Linked DNA regions of Homo sapiens: regions 1, 3, 4 and 5 are each linked to region 2. The links are contacts of gene promoters, found by promoter capture Hi-C in blood cells and fetal thymus (Javierre and others, 2016). All regions are on one chromosome and are shown on one strand. The core of a region is centred on a gene start or on the middle of the fragment in contact, and the rest is flanking DNA. Distances in the headings are between cores, read along the strand shown.

Evidence for each region. The method cuts DNA at HindIII sites, captures the fragments that hold promoters and counts their contacts. A CHiCAGO score of 5 or more calls a contact.
Region 1: a contact is called between a fragment that was not itself captured here and the fragment with the promoter of USP47 in region 2, in 1 of 17 cell types (naive CD8 T cells). The highest score is 5.0, in naive CD8 T cells.
Region 3: a contact is called between a fragment that was not itself captured here and the fragment with the promoter of USP47 in region 2, in 5 of 17 cell types (naive CD8 T cells, total CD4 T cells, naive CD4 T cells and 2 more). The highest score is 9.6, in naive CD8 T cells.
Region 4: a contact is called between a fragment that was not itself captured here and the fragment with the promoter of USP47 in region 2, in 10 of 17 cell types (non-activated CD4 T cells, naive CD4 T cells, total CD4 T cells and 7 more). The highest score is 13.1, in non-activated CD4 T cells.
Region 5: a contact is called between a fragment that was not itself captured here and the fragment with the promoter of USP47 in region 2, in 2 of 17 cell types (naive CD8 T cells and total CD8 T cells). The highest score is 6.1, in naive CD8 T cells.

The regions. Positions count from the first base shown.
Region 1 is chr11:10,827,247-10,829,946 of GRCh38, forward strand. No RefSeq gene overlaps it. Among named protein-coding and RNA genes, the nearest start is that of EIF4G2, 20 kb to the left of the region's middle. The HindIII fragment of the contact is 5,436 bases long and covers 1-2,700 here.
Region 2 is chr11:11,840,642-11,843,341 of GRCh38, forward strand. USP47 (ubiquitin specific peptidase 47) reads left to right here and starts at 1,331. Exons shown (of 28, transcript NM_001282659.2): 1 at 1,331-1,583. The coding sequence starts at 1,545. It overlaps LOC107984311 (a long non-coding RNA gene), which reads right to left and starts at 1,200. Exons shown (of 4, transcript XR_001748134.3): 1 at 534-1,200. RefSeq lists enhancers at 407-1,272, 1,055-1,224, 1,273-2,136, 1,435-1,574. The HindIII fragment of the contact is 16,233 bases long and covers 1-2,700 here.
Region 3 is chr11:10,770,590-10,773,289 of GRCh38, forward strand. It overlaps CTR9 (CTR9 component of Paf1/RNA polymerase II complex), which reads left to right. Exons shown (of 25, transcript NM_014633.5): 18 at 1-43; 19 at 956-1,027; 20 at 1,931-2,066; 21 at 2,538-2,684. Among named protein-coding and RNA genes, the nearest start is that of CTR9, 21 kb to the left of the region's middle. The HindIII fragment of the contact is 4,881 bases long and covers 1-2,700 here.
Region 4 is chr11:10,799,819-10,802,518 of GRCh38, forward strand. It overlaps EIF4G2 (eukaryotic translation initiation factor 4 gamma 2), which reads right to left. Exons shown (of 22, transcript NM_001418.4): 12 at 2,476-2,617; 13 at 2,231-2,391; 14 at 1,843-1,956; 15 at 1,144-1,269; 16 at 913-1,017; 17 at 614-829; 18 at 272-530. It overlaps SNORD97 (small nucleolar RNA, C/D box 97), which reads right to left and starts at 1,790; the gene lies at 1,649-1,790. The HindIII fragment of the contact is 163 bases long and covers 1,214-1,376 here.
Region 5 is chr11:10,752,682-10,755,381 of GRCh38, forward strand. CTR9 (CTR9 component of Paf1/RNA polymerase II complex) reads left to right here. Exons shown (of 25, transcript NM_014633.5): 2 at 1-89; 3 at 2,277-2,516. Among named protein-coding and RNA genes, the nearest start is that of CTR9, 2.8 kb to the left of the region's middle. The HindIII fragment of the contact is 5,641 bases long and covers 1-2,700 here.

The DNA of each region.
Region 1 (2,700 bases), core at 31-2,530, 1.0 Mb before region 2:
GATATACCTAGTAATGAAGAAGGAAGAAATTGTCTCTGCCTACATGTAACTAAAAGTCCTTGGGAGAAGAAAGATAGTGAAAAATAAATCCAAATGCGATGTGTTATGAAAGAGGAAGTATAAAGTGCCATGAGTATGAGTGGAAAGAGCAGTTAAAGGTGAGCAGAGGAGCAGCTCTCAGTGGAAAGAAATCAAAAGCTAAGATAAAAACCAGTAACACTCTGGATGGGTGGGAATAGATTGAAATCCATAAAGCCAAAGAGATTTGAATTACTTGACTTCAAATAGGTTGAATATTTCAGTAAGGTAAGGACTCTATTCTTTTTCTTTCTCGGCCTTTGTCCAGAGAGTGGGAAAAGTTTGAAAGATTTGGTCTGAATCCAGGTTTTAAAAATTATTTTTATGGATTGATTAATATTGTTATGCACAACAGGACTACAGAATGTAGGAGATGGGGTAACTGTCCCCAAAAGAGGTCATAGCCTTGTTGGAGAGACAACATATAAACATAGAAAAAAATAAAAGAGGTCTCTTAGGAGACTATAAATGATTAAAGCCTTAATGAAGGCAGAGGAAGAAGTTTCTATGGGCACAAATAATAAGTAATGATGTCTTGCTAGAGATGTCCTATTTTAGAACTTATTGGTGAATTATGACATTCTAAGATAGGCCTAAGTGTACAAGACTTAGGTCTAAAATTAGGCATTAGAAACTGCCTCCCTGTTTGGCCTGGCTGATGGCAGAGGAAGGTTCAGAAATACAGGGGAGATTCAGTAGCCAAAGATGGGTTCATCTATAGCTATGATGAGATAAACAGTTTACACCAAGATTATACATTCTGGTGTCTAGAAGGGGGATCTTCGTGTATTCATCCATTCTCACACTGCTATAAAGATACTACCTGAGACTAAGTAATTTATAAAGAAAAGAGGTTAATTGACTCACAGTTCTACATGGCTGGCGAGTCTTCAGGAGACTTACAATCATGGTGGAAGGTGAAGAAAAAACAAGGACCTTCTTCACATGGCAATAAGAGAGAGAAGGGTGAGCAGGGGAAATGCCAGATGCTTATAGAACCATCAGATCTTGTGAGAACTCATTCACTATCACAAGAACAGCATCGGGGGAACGACCCCTATGATCCACTCACCTCCCACCAGGTCCCTCCCTTGACACATGGGGATTATGGGGATTACAATTCAAGATGAGATTTGGGTGGGAACACAAAGCCTCCATATCATTCCGCCCCTGGCCCCTCCCAAGTCTTTTTCTCTCATTTCAAAACATAATCATGCCTTCCCAACAGTACCTCAAAGTCTTAACTCATTCCAGCATTAAACCAAAAGTCCAAGTTCAAAGTCCCATCTGAGACAAGGCATGCCACTTCTGTCTAGTAGCCTATAAAATCAAAAGCAAGTTAATTACTTCCAAGATACTATGGGGGTATAGGCATTGGATAAATACTCCCATTCCAAATGGAAGAAATTGGCCAAAACAAAGGGGATACAGGCCCCACGCAAGTCTGAAATCCAGCAGGGCAGTCATTAAATCTTTAAGCTCCAAAAGGATCTCCTGTGACTCCATGTCTCATATCCAGGTCATGCTGATGAAAAAGGTGGGCTCCCATGGCCTTGGGCAGCCCTGCCCCTGTGGCTTTGCAGGGTATAGCCCCCGCCCTGGCTGCTTTCATGGCTGGCATTGAGTATCTGCGGCTTTTCCAGGCTAATGGTGCAACCTGTTTGGAGGATGGTGGCCCTCTTCTCATAGCTCCAATTAGGCAGTGCCCCAGTGGGGACTCTGCATGAGAAATCCAACTTCACATTTCCCTTCCACACTGCACTAGCAGAGGTTCTCTGTGAGAGCTCTGCCCCTGCAGAAGACTTCTGCCTGGACACCTGGGCATTTCCATGTATCCTCTGAAATCTAGGCAGAGGTGCCCAAACCTCACTTCTTGTTTTTCTGTGCACCCGCAGGCCCAACACCACATGGAAGCTGCCAAGACTTGGGGCTTGCATCCTCTGAAGCCATGACCCAAGCTGTACCTTGGACCCTTTCAGCCACAGCTAGGATGAAGGGTGCCAAGTCCCAAGGCTACAAACAGAGCAGCAGCGGGGCCTGGCCCACAAAACCATTTTTTCCTACTAGGCCTCCAGGTCTGTGATGGGAGGGGCTGCCATGAAGGTCTCTGACATGCCCTGGAGACATTTGCCCCATCGTCCTGGCTATTAACGTTTGGCTGCTGGTTACTCATGCAAATTTCTGCAGCTGGCTTAAATTCCTCCCCATAAATGGTTTTTTCTTGTCTACTACATGGTCAGCTGCAAATTTTCCACATTTTTACACTCTGTTGTCCCCCCCCTTTTTTTTTTTTGAGATGGAGTCTCACTCTGTCACCCAAGCTAGAGTGCAGTGGCGTGATCTCAGCTCACTGCAACCTCCGCCTCCCAGGTTCAAGTGATTCTTGCACCTCAGCCTCCAGAGTAGTAGCTGGGATTACAGGCACCCACCACCATGCCTGGCTAATTTTTGTATTTTTCATAGAGACAAGGTTTTGCCATGTAGGCCAGGCTGGTCTCCAACCCCTGACCTCAAGTGACCCACCTGCAATTGGCCTCCCAAAGGGCTGGGATTACAGGCATGAGCCACTGCGCCTGACCCCCTTTTAAAAATAAGTTCCAATTTCAAATTATCTCTTTGTGA
Region 2 (2,700 bases), core at 81-2,580:
AAAATAACCTGACGTTCAATCAGATATTTTAATAACTATTTCACGAAGTATTAAAGATTTTTAAAACTAACGAAACCTAGTCAATCATATTGATTTCCTTAAATATTTTTAGTGAGAATAACAAAGATTTTTATACCATTAATATGGAAAATAACTAAGTTATTTTAAATGTTTATGTCATCTTTGTCTTAGCCTTTTTACATTTTACAAATGTTTTATAATTCTGCACACAGCAGGACACGTATAAAACTTATATAAGTATATGGATTTTTTTTTGGTAACGGGATTACAATAAAAAAAAGTTTGGAGAACACAAGTGCAGGCAGTTAATGCTGTGGGTGTTAGGAACATGACAAGATTATATTATCTCAGCATGCTGTAAGATCACTGTATCCATAAAAGTCTTCATGAAGGAGCCCCGCCGAGTCTCCATAATGGAAGCAGGATTTGGAGAAATGACTTCTGCAAACTTTGTTTAGTATAACACAAAGCACCATGCTTACTACTAGAGAAGATTAAAATTCTCTAAAAACCTTGTTAACGGAGATCACAGGTTGAAGCATACTGCAGCTCTACTCTTGGAAGGCTAGCTCAGTCTCAGACTTGGCCCTGATGGAGAAGGAAGTTCCCTGGAAGAGGGCAGGGGAGCGCCTCTCCAATGTAGTTGCGGGGGGCGGGCGGTGAGGACACCGCTTCATAAGGGAAGGGGTGGCTGCCTCCCCAAGCAGGGGGTGGCCCCTGAGGTCCCTCCAGCTGGGGGCCCTTGAGAGGGAGGGTGGGGAGAGGGGAAAAGAACGTCAGGAGAGTGAACGGGAGCAAATAAAACGCTGTCCATTCTGACTGGAAGGGCCAGAGCCGTGTCTAAGGGCGGGGGCCGGGAGGTGGCCCGCGGTGGTGTCTCTACCAGGACGAGGCCTGGGGTATCTGAAGAGGGGATGACGTCCAGGCGCTTTGCTAAAGGGAAGCCAGAAGGGTATGAGTTGCTAGGGTCAGAGATGGGGCTTTCGGCTCGAGTCTTTCCCTGCAGGGCAGAGAGTCCGAAGAGCCCGAGAAGGCAGGGAGGACAGTGGGCCTGGTCCTTCCCCGGCCGGCAGAGGGAGTCCCGAGATGGAACGTCCAGCTCTCCTCTAACGAAAAGCGTTTGCATGGCTGTCTCGCCAATTCTGTACCTCCCGGGGCTGAGGAAGAGCCGAGGTGACTAGAAGCTAGCGACAAGTGCCGGCCACCTCCGACGCCAGGCGCCGGGCTTGGAGCCCGACGGGCCGAATTCTCGCGAGAGCGGCCGCCGCCATTTTTCCATTGATTGCAGCGGGCTGGGGGAGGGGCCGACGACGAAGGCGGCTGTGGTAGCGGCGGCGGCGGCGGCGGAGCCCTGGGTCGGTGTCTGCGCGCTGGTGTCTGAGGCCCAGGCTGAGGCCTCCGCTATTGCTGGAGCGCAGGCGGCGGAGAGGATGACTGCCGCTGCCATTCTCTCTTGAGCTAGCGAGCCGCCGCCACCCTCCACCCTCCCCCGGCAGGGCGGAGAGGAGCGGCCGGAGTCAGCGATGGTGCCCGGCGAGGAGAACCAACTGGTCCCGAAAGAGGTGAGGGGCCCCAGAGGAGGTTAGGCCTTAGGCCTGCGGCCGCTCGAGGCAACACAGGCCCGGGCCGGGGTTCGGCTGCGGGCCCGGCCGGGGTGCAGGCTCGGCTGTGGGGGAATGAGGAGGCGTGAGGCAGTCGGGGGTGGACGGTGGGTGCGGCGAGCAGTTGGGAGACCCGCTGGCTCTAGGGGCCGGGGAGCGGACCTCCCGCCTCGGGTTTTATGGGGCTGGACGAATAAAGGAGCGGACGGGAAAGAATCAGGTTCTGCTCTAGGGGAGAAGGTGGCCTTTTAAGTTCTTGTTTAACGTGTGGAGCCGGGAGAGATCATTTCAAAGAAAACATTCTGGAACAGTTGCCTATGGGCACGGCAGGGTGACGGTGCTGCTTCTGGGTTTGACAGTGGCAGCGTATAGCTTTCAGCGCTTGTGAAATCTACACCCAAGTGAGATCTGTGGGAGGGCAGACTTAACTGTTACGACTTTTTTCAACTCCTGTTACTTGGTAGTACTATTGGCCTGCCTAAATGGGGCCTACCGAAGATCGTGGAAAAGTAGTACATGGGACATTAATGTAAAGGAAGGAGATAGGAGAACATTACCACATGGAGAGCTGAACTCTTTTTTTTTTTTTTTTTTTTTGAGGTTGGGTTGTGTATGCCAATTTGAGTGACTTCTTAAATTCTTAAAAGCAAGTGATACGAGAAGCCTTGACTACTTGGCTTCTCTTGAATAGTAGTAGAAGATTTAGGGTAGAATCCAGCACTGGCCAGCGAATTTCAACGTATTAATAGTATCTCTGTTGGCTTTATAAATATCTTCGGCGTATTCAAATGTGTATTTTTAACTGGCTGATCATCAGGCTAATGCTTTGGATTTTTATTTCTCATATACCTTAAATAGAGACAAGTGTTGGATTGAAATTAACTGTGTGCGATCTTGAAATTAATGAGTGATCATTACAGATTCTTAAATTTTTTTGTGCCTGTTTTACTTGTTTTGTAGCAATTCTTTGTTACTTAAGCAAGCTCTGACAGTATGCAAGGGTGATATTATTGGAGTTATGTACCTGTATGATACAAGTATTTTCCCAGCTTTGTCAGAAGGGCAGTGATAGTTGTTT
Region 3 (2,700 bases), core at 1-2,500, 1.1 Mb before region 2:
AGGAAGTACTTAATGCTGTGAAAGAACTGGAGCTTGCACATAGGTAAAGATTTTGTAGAAACAACCTATGAAATGCTTTATTTGGTCTATGACCATACCATCTTGAACTCTCCCGATTTTGTCTGAAATGCTTTGTTTAAAGCTATTTGTCTCAAGCTGCTGAAAATCACTTCCTTCTAAAGGTGGTCTATTAGAATCATTCCAGCAATAGTTAAGCCAAAGCAGATAGCAGCTGCCACCAGGTGGTGCCAAACTATAGTCAGGATCCTGCCAGATTTGGATCTTGTAGCTTGACCTCTAGAACTGGCTGGCTAGCTTTGCAAACTTGCCATAGATTTTTTATTAATCTGACAGTAATGTGACCCAGCATTTTACACATGTGAAATTTTTTGGACACTTACGTTGGTCTTCCATTTTACACCAATGTGTCTTTTAATGGGATGTTGATTTTCATTGAACTAGGATTAAGGTTTTACTTCTTAAATAATGCTTAATAGTTTTATTCAGTTCAGCTCAAAATTTATTTAGCCATATAGTATTTATATGGTGAGTCAGTGTGTGGTGAAATTAAAACCTGTCATCTCTTCAGGTTTTGTCCAACTTAATATTTTTATTCTTGTTTAACAATTCTTGCCTTGCCTGGTAAATTATAAGTGCTTTCATGGCCTGAGCCCCGTAACCTCCATCCTGACATATTTAGTAAATTTCATGTTTAGTAAATACTTGTTGCTTGAATTGCTTTGTGGTTATTTGTGAATTTACTGATAATATTAAATATAACTTAGACCATCTTGATGAACGTGTCTATTAAATGTAATGAGTGGCATAAATTTGTGTAAATCAGTCAATATGCAAACCTTTTCTCAGACTTTGTAGCACAGATTAAATTTTTTAAGAGCTTTATTTCATTAGAATCTCTTTTTTTAAAAGTGAAGTATTTTCTCGTTTCATTTAGATACTTCAGTTATTTGAGTAAAGTGGGAGATAAAATGAGATTTGATTTGGCCCTTGCTGCTACAGAAGCCAGGTAATGTTACTATTTATGGAAGGTGACTTTGGGTGAGGCAGTGATATTTACATGGGCTGGGAAAGTGCCACAGTAGGGAACAGAGGTTCCTGACCTTCCACAGGTCAGTCTTTCACACTTCTCTTGGGGACTCTCTAATCTTTGCCAGGACTTTTTCCTTTCAGGGAATTGGACAAAATTGCCTTAGTACAAGTACTTGAGTTCTGGGGGAAAATACTTTTCTATTTTACTTATGTCAGCTATGTCAGCCTAGTCAAGATAAAATTCATGACTCTGAGTTATATGTAAAGATAATGTTGGAAATCTTTTTAGCTGTGCTTTGAGAGGACATTTATAGTTTGGAAACTTAACATAGTTGGCAGTATTGGCTTATGATAAACTAAGTTAATTTTGCTAATTAAGACTCCATACATTGGTATGGTATGGCAAGTGTAATGCAAAAAAAAAAATTTTTTTTGGCTGGGCGCAGTGGCTCACACCTGTAATCCTGGCACTTTTGGAGGCCTAGGTGGGCGGATCAGCTGAGGTCAGGAGTTCAAGAGCAGCCTGACCAACATGGAGAAACTCCGTCTCTACTAAAAATACAAAATTAGCCAGGTATGGTGGTGCACACCTGTAATCCCAGCTACTCGGGAGGCTGAGGCAGGATAATCACTTAAACCCGGAGGCGGAGGTTGCGGTGAGCCGAGATGGCACCATTACACTCTAACCTAGGCAACAAGAGCAAAACTCTGTCTCTTAAACAAAAAAGGAAGAAAAAAAACATTTTTTTAAAAAAAGACTTCACATAGATCAGCTAATGGTCCTGCTTCAGATTTTTTAATTTGTATAAGGAAAATAGATGTGCTGAGTTTTTTAATATAGTAGTTACATTCATGTTTCTCTAAACCTGAAATGTTCTAGGCAGTGTTCTGACTTACTGAGCCAGGCCCAGTACCATGTGGCCCGGGCACGCAAACAAGATGAAGAAGAGCGGGAGCTGCGGGCCAAGCAAGAGCAAGAAAAGGAGCTGTTAAGGCAGAAACTTCTTAAAGAACAGGTATCTTGTATTTTCCAGTTATACTGGAATTAATGAATTGTGTGCATGCATACACTTTGTATGTTTAAAAAAAAAAGTCCTCTGCCAGGCGTGGTGGCTGACACCTCTAATTCCAACACTTTGGGAGGATGAGGTGGGTGGAGGGCGGATCACTTGAGGTCAGGAGTTCGAGACCAGCCTGGCCAACATGGTGGAACCCCGTCTCTACTAAAAATACAAAAATTAGCCAGGAGTGGTGGCATGCACCTGTAATCCCAGCTACTCGGGGAGCTGAGGCAGGAGAATCACTTGAACCTGGGAGGCCAAGGTTGTAGTGAGCCGAGATTGCACCACTGTACTCCAGTCTAGGCAACAGAGTGAGACTCCATCTCAAAAGAAAAAAAAAAATCCTCTGCTTAGGATGGTAGCCATTAATTTTTCATCATAAGAAAATTTGCAGTGGGGTTTCTTTTCTACCATTTTTCCTCATAGGAAGAGAAACGTCTCAGAGAAAAGGAAGAGCAAAAGAAACTTTTGGAACAGCGGGCCCAGTATGTGGAGAAGACCAAAAATATTCTTATGTTTACTGGTGAGACTGAAGCAACAAAAGAGAAGAAAAGAGGTGGTGGTGGTGGACGGGTAAGATATAATTCCT
Region 4 (2,700 bases), core at 45-2,544, 1.0 Mb before region 2:
GAGCAGAGCTTCACAAATGATGTCCCCAAGTATGTAAGATCCATGTAGCAGAATAGAGAACCAACCCAGCAAATGAAAAAAACTCAACATACGGATCAAATGAAAGTAGTTAAATTATAAATCTCTCTTTATAGGTGAGATCTGTGGTAATGTTTATCATTATCTGAGCAGGACAATCAGACTGTCTGACCTACATAAATCCACTCAAGGTACCTGAAATCTCTAGATATAATATTAAAAAAACAAAACAAACAAGTCAGCATTCTCTTACCTGGGAGCATTTTCTGCATATTGACCTTGCTTTGTTGAAAAAGTTCTGTTAACCATTCTCGATCTTGTAATTTAGCTAACTGCTGAAGACAAAGTAGGAAGAGAGGAAAATGGGTGCCACTTTCTAGTGGTTGAGCTAGTTCTGAAATGCTCACCAGCTCTGAAATGATGGCACGAGCTGCAAACTGTGCTAAATAGGATTTCACCAAAGGGATGTCAACCTCCAGTTTGGGACACTGGTCCAATACATTCAGGAAAGCCTTGAAAGAAATATACAACAGTTTATCAGTTTTCGAATTTGAGTGGTAAGAGTTCTTACCACACAATCAGTAAAGTGTCCTACCTGCATGAAGTTGTCACTTGTGGCTATCCCTTCCTGTTTGAGTAAACTGATCAAAGAACTTGCTTTTTCTTTATCTTCATCGCTTCTATCTAGTGACAGGATGATTACTTTGCTTAACATCTCAGGAAGAAAGTGTTTAGGAGCCCTCATTTCTCTTACACCATTGACAGCCTCATTTGCATTTCCACTATTTAGATATTCAGTCACAACAGTTTCCTGTGAAGAACACAAGTATCTTTAATGTATTCTCTATCTCAAATACAGGCTAATTACACTAAAATGGGATATTTGAAACTTACAGTTAGTTTAAGGAGTTCTTCCTTTGACGGTGGTGGCTTTTTGCTGGTCTTGGCAGGCTTTTCCTGGATAAGCGGTGGATTAGTTTTGAGACCAAGCTGAGGTGTCTAAAAAACAAGCAATGACAGACTTTTTTTAAAAAGAGGACTATGAAATTAGGGGGAAGAACACACTAAATTTAGAAAAAAGTCTTCAGATATCTTTAGAAAATGCTGTCCTACTATGGTCTGTACCTGTCCCAGAGGTGGTGTTTGAGTGCGTGGTGGTTGTGCACTAGGAGGAATCATAGTTATCTGGGGCTGAAGCTTTGGCACTTGATTTTTATTCATTAGGAACGACTGAGCAGGCCTCAGGCTAATCTGGAATTGAAAACAAAATATATCTAAATTAACAACATGCAGTTGGCGAACATATTAAATACAACATTCTAAAATCCTATACAGTGACAGAATCTAGGGAAACATTAAGCTTTTTGAAAAACTAAAGAAGGTACTCCACATTAACAGGTTTAATTTTTGGCAAAAAATTTAAAGATCTGATGCATACAGTAGTAAGATACTATTATAAATCTTACATTCTCTTAGAATTAGCATGACTAAAATATTCAAATAAAAAACTGCAAATTTAACTACAGTTTAGAAAATGCCCTGTTTTATCCTTAGTTAAATCACCCTTACAAAGAAAGAAACCACAATATTTTGACAACCAGTTTTCTTGCTCTAACAGACTTTAGGAGACTTGCCCTCATATCTCATAATCTTCGCTCACAGGACGCTGGACATTCAAAGAAAGAAAAAGAAGTATAGAAAAGAGAGAAAAACGTCAAGAACTCCAGCATAAAGTCCTCTTAATAACGCGTCTTTTTATAATCATCGGGCAATAAATTTCTGAATGGACAAACTATGGTATATAAGTAACATAGGCAAATGTACCTCATCTGCATTAAGCTGTCCTTTCTTAGAAAACCGAGGTGGCATATCCTTCGACTGTCCTTGCAGCTGGGATAAGAGTCCCTGACTCTGGTTATGGTAGAGCTGGCTTAGCCCCTATTTCAGAAAAGGAGAAAGAAAGTCTAGATAAAAAGGGGTCCACAAATTATGGTAATCAAGTACCAAAGGGATGAGCCAAGCCATAAAGTTAGTTTAACTGAATTTGCCCAGAGAAAGTAAAAGATGAAACAGGGAAGAATAAAAATCTAACCTATCAAATAAAGTGATGTGATTTTACTAATACTTTACTAATCTTAAGGATAAACATTTCAGTTTGAAATAAATGTTGCAGATAAGGTTTAGAAAACATGCACACTCAAATATTACTTACCTGGCTTTTCATAAACTTGCCTCCCATCTCTCCAAACTGCGATTGTGTGGGAGGCATGATGTGTCCCCCATGGCCATTGAAGAGTTGATTTGAACGATGACGTCCCATGGTGGGTGAAAATCTATCCTGGATAACTCCTGGACCAGTACCAATTCCGCTACCTTAAAATACATATACGGACAACTCTCAAAACTAAAGTTAACTGATTTTTCAGCTTAACGCAACCATTGTTTTTTCAAAATTACCTGGCATTTGTCCAAACATATCAGCAAGTCCTCCAAGTGGGTCCCTATCCATTTTCATCCTGGGTGGCATGAACGGTCCCTCCAGAAAGAAGTCACTTCTCATCCCTTGAGCCATAGGAGCAGGAATAAACACCCCTAGATCCTTTAGAAATGAAGTGAATATGCACTTTTTGTCTCTGGACACTATTTCACTTAAAACTAAAATTCTTGCAACTAGGGGGGGAA
Region 5 (2,700 bases), core at 1-2,500, 1.1 Mb before region 2:
TTGACTTCGATCAGTTACCGGAGGGAGATGAAGTTATCAGTATTCTGAAACAGGAACACACACAACTGCACATATGGATTGCTTTGGCGGTCAGTATTCATGTAGCAAATATTTTTTATTTGTTGACTAGGAAAATATGTAGTTTCTGTTTTCAGATATAGTAATAGCCAGCTTGGCTGCATGGTAGATTAGTTATACCATGTGTATGGAAGTTAATTGTGTTAATAATTTATGGAACAATAAGGCCGTTTTCCTAAATGATATGCTGCTCTACTGGTGAATTAGTATATGTTGGTAAAGGCAAAATTCATTTAAGTAGTACTCTATATTGAATATTTTATTATTTAGTGCTTGTTCAGTGAAGGCTGGCTTATGGTTTATAGATAAGCTGAAAAGAAGCGAAGTGCTTCTGTGTGAACATTGCTGCTTAACATTGTTTCCTATAACAACAAAACACTTCCCTTAAAATATTCTAGAATGTGATTAGGTTCTGGGAAAATCACTTCACCCAAAATCACAAAAGTTCTTTTGGGTGAAGTTTATCTCAGACTTATGTTTTTTGTCCTATTTAGTCTCCTTCAATGTGAATCTTACTGGAGATTCTCAAGAAAATCCAATCAGAAACCCTAAAATTCTATATCCTCTACTTGCCAGCATCAGCTGCATAATGATGTTTTCTTTTTATAGGAATAGGTAATATAAATGTTACAGTCATTATTCCTAAGTAGATATGCCACATTGCTTTCATACAAACATACAGAAGAGGCTCCTAATATTGTCTTGAAGAGTCAGAGAAATAGGTCTGGAATTGGGCTTATATCCAGTGCTCAAGACTGCTCTAAGAGTTTCTTCCTTTTAGATGTGGATTTACAGAGAAGTATTTTCAGTGACAAGCAGTGCCTTCTTGACTTGAAGTGCCAACTTTTCTTATTCCATGGAGACCAAGCCTCCTTGTCACACACATTTTTTTTAAAACCAGATGGTAATTTAGATGTATATATAATATATATTATATATATATATATTTTTAAGTACATATGCCCTCCTTAACAGCACTTAAACAAAAATTAGAATATTGGAGGATTAGCATGGCACCTGTAGTAGAATAAATTAATGACACATTGTGGGATATAGATTTTTACAGGGAAAAGAATGTAGGCTTTGGGGTTAGATCAAGTCCCGGCATGGCTGCTAACTAGCTATGTGACCTTAGACAAATGATCTAACTTCTGAGCATATGTCCTCATTTAAAATATAGAGATGTTAGCATCTACCTCATAGAGTGGTTGTACAGATTAGAGAATATGTGTATGAAATTCCTTTCATGGTATGTGACCAATAGTCAGTGGTTAATAAGTGGTGGATATTCCACATAGAGACAGAGTCTCTCTATTTTGCCCAGGCTAGACTCAAACTCCTGGGCTCAAGCCATCCTGCCACTACAGCATCCCAAGTAGTAGATTACAGGTACATACCACCACACCTAGTGGATATTTCTTTTATTATTTATAAGTCAAACAGATGCCTAGAGAAGTTGTTAAACAGGCCCAAATCACAGATAATTTTTGGTAGATCTAGAACCAGAACCCAAGTTTTCTATTTAGAATTCTTCATATCTTTCACTATTGTTTTCTCTCTTAGGCTCTACTTATCTGAAAATTTTAGTTAGAAATCAACTAGATAAGCAGCAGATTGGGAACATTGTGAATGATTCCAGTTTTTTAAACAGTTTTATTAAAGTCTAATGGATTTATAATAAACTGCACATATTTGACATTTACCATTTGATAAGTTTTATCATCTGTATATACCTGTGAAACCATCACCACAATCAAGATTAATGAATACATTCATCACCTTCTGAAAGTGTCCTCTGTACCACTCCCCACAAGTCCCCCACCCCACCCCTAATCCCTGTGCCAGACAACCACTGGTCTGCTTTTTGACACTAGAGATTGTTTTACATTTTCTAGAGTTTTATATAAATGGAATCACACAATATGTACTCTTTTTTTGGTCTGATTTCTTTCATTCAGCATAATTATTTTGAGATTTATCCATGTTGTAGCATGTATCAGTAGTTCATTCCTTTTCATTGTAGGATAGTATCCATTTTATGGATACACCACAGCTTGTTTATCCATTCACCTGTTAATCAACATTTTGATTGTTTCCAGTTTTTTGTTATTACAAATAAAGCTGCTGTAAACATTTGTGTACAACTTTTTATATGGACATATGCTTTAGTGATTCTAATTTGTTTCATTACCTTATAGCTGGAATACTACAAGCAAGGAAAAACAGAAGAGTTTGTAAAATTGTTGGAAGCAGCACGTATAGATGGCAATTTGGACTATAGAGACCATGAAAAAGACCAGATGACTTGCTTGGATACATTGGCAGCGTATTATGTACAACAGGCTCGGAAAGAAAAGAATAAGGACAATAAAAAGGATCTTATTACACAGGCCACCTTGTTGTATACAATGGCCGATAAAATTATTATGTATGATCAGGTAAAAATAAAGTCAAATTTCTTTCCATTTATGAAGGGAGAAAAGCACATGAAAGCAAAATGTGTGTGATAGCAGATTTTTTGAAAGAGTTTTTCTTCAAGTAACATGGTTGATAGAGTCAAAAAGAAGAAAGGTTCCTCATTAAAATCGGAATGCTTTGGTTTTTGTACTGTTTAAGTAATAT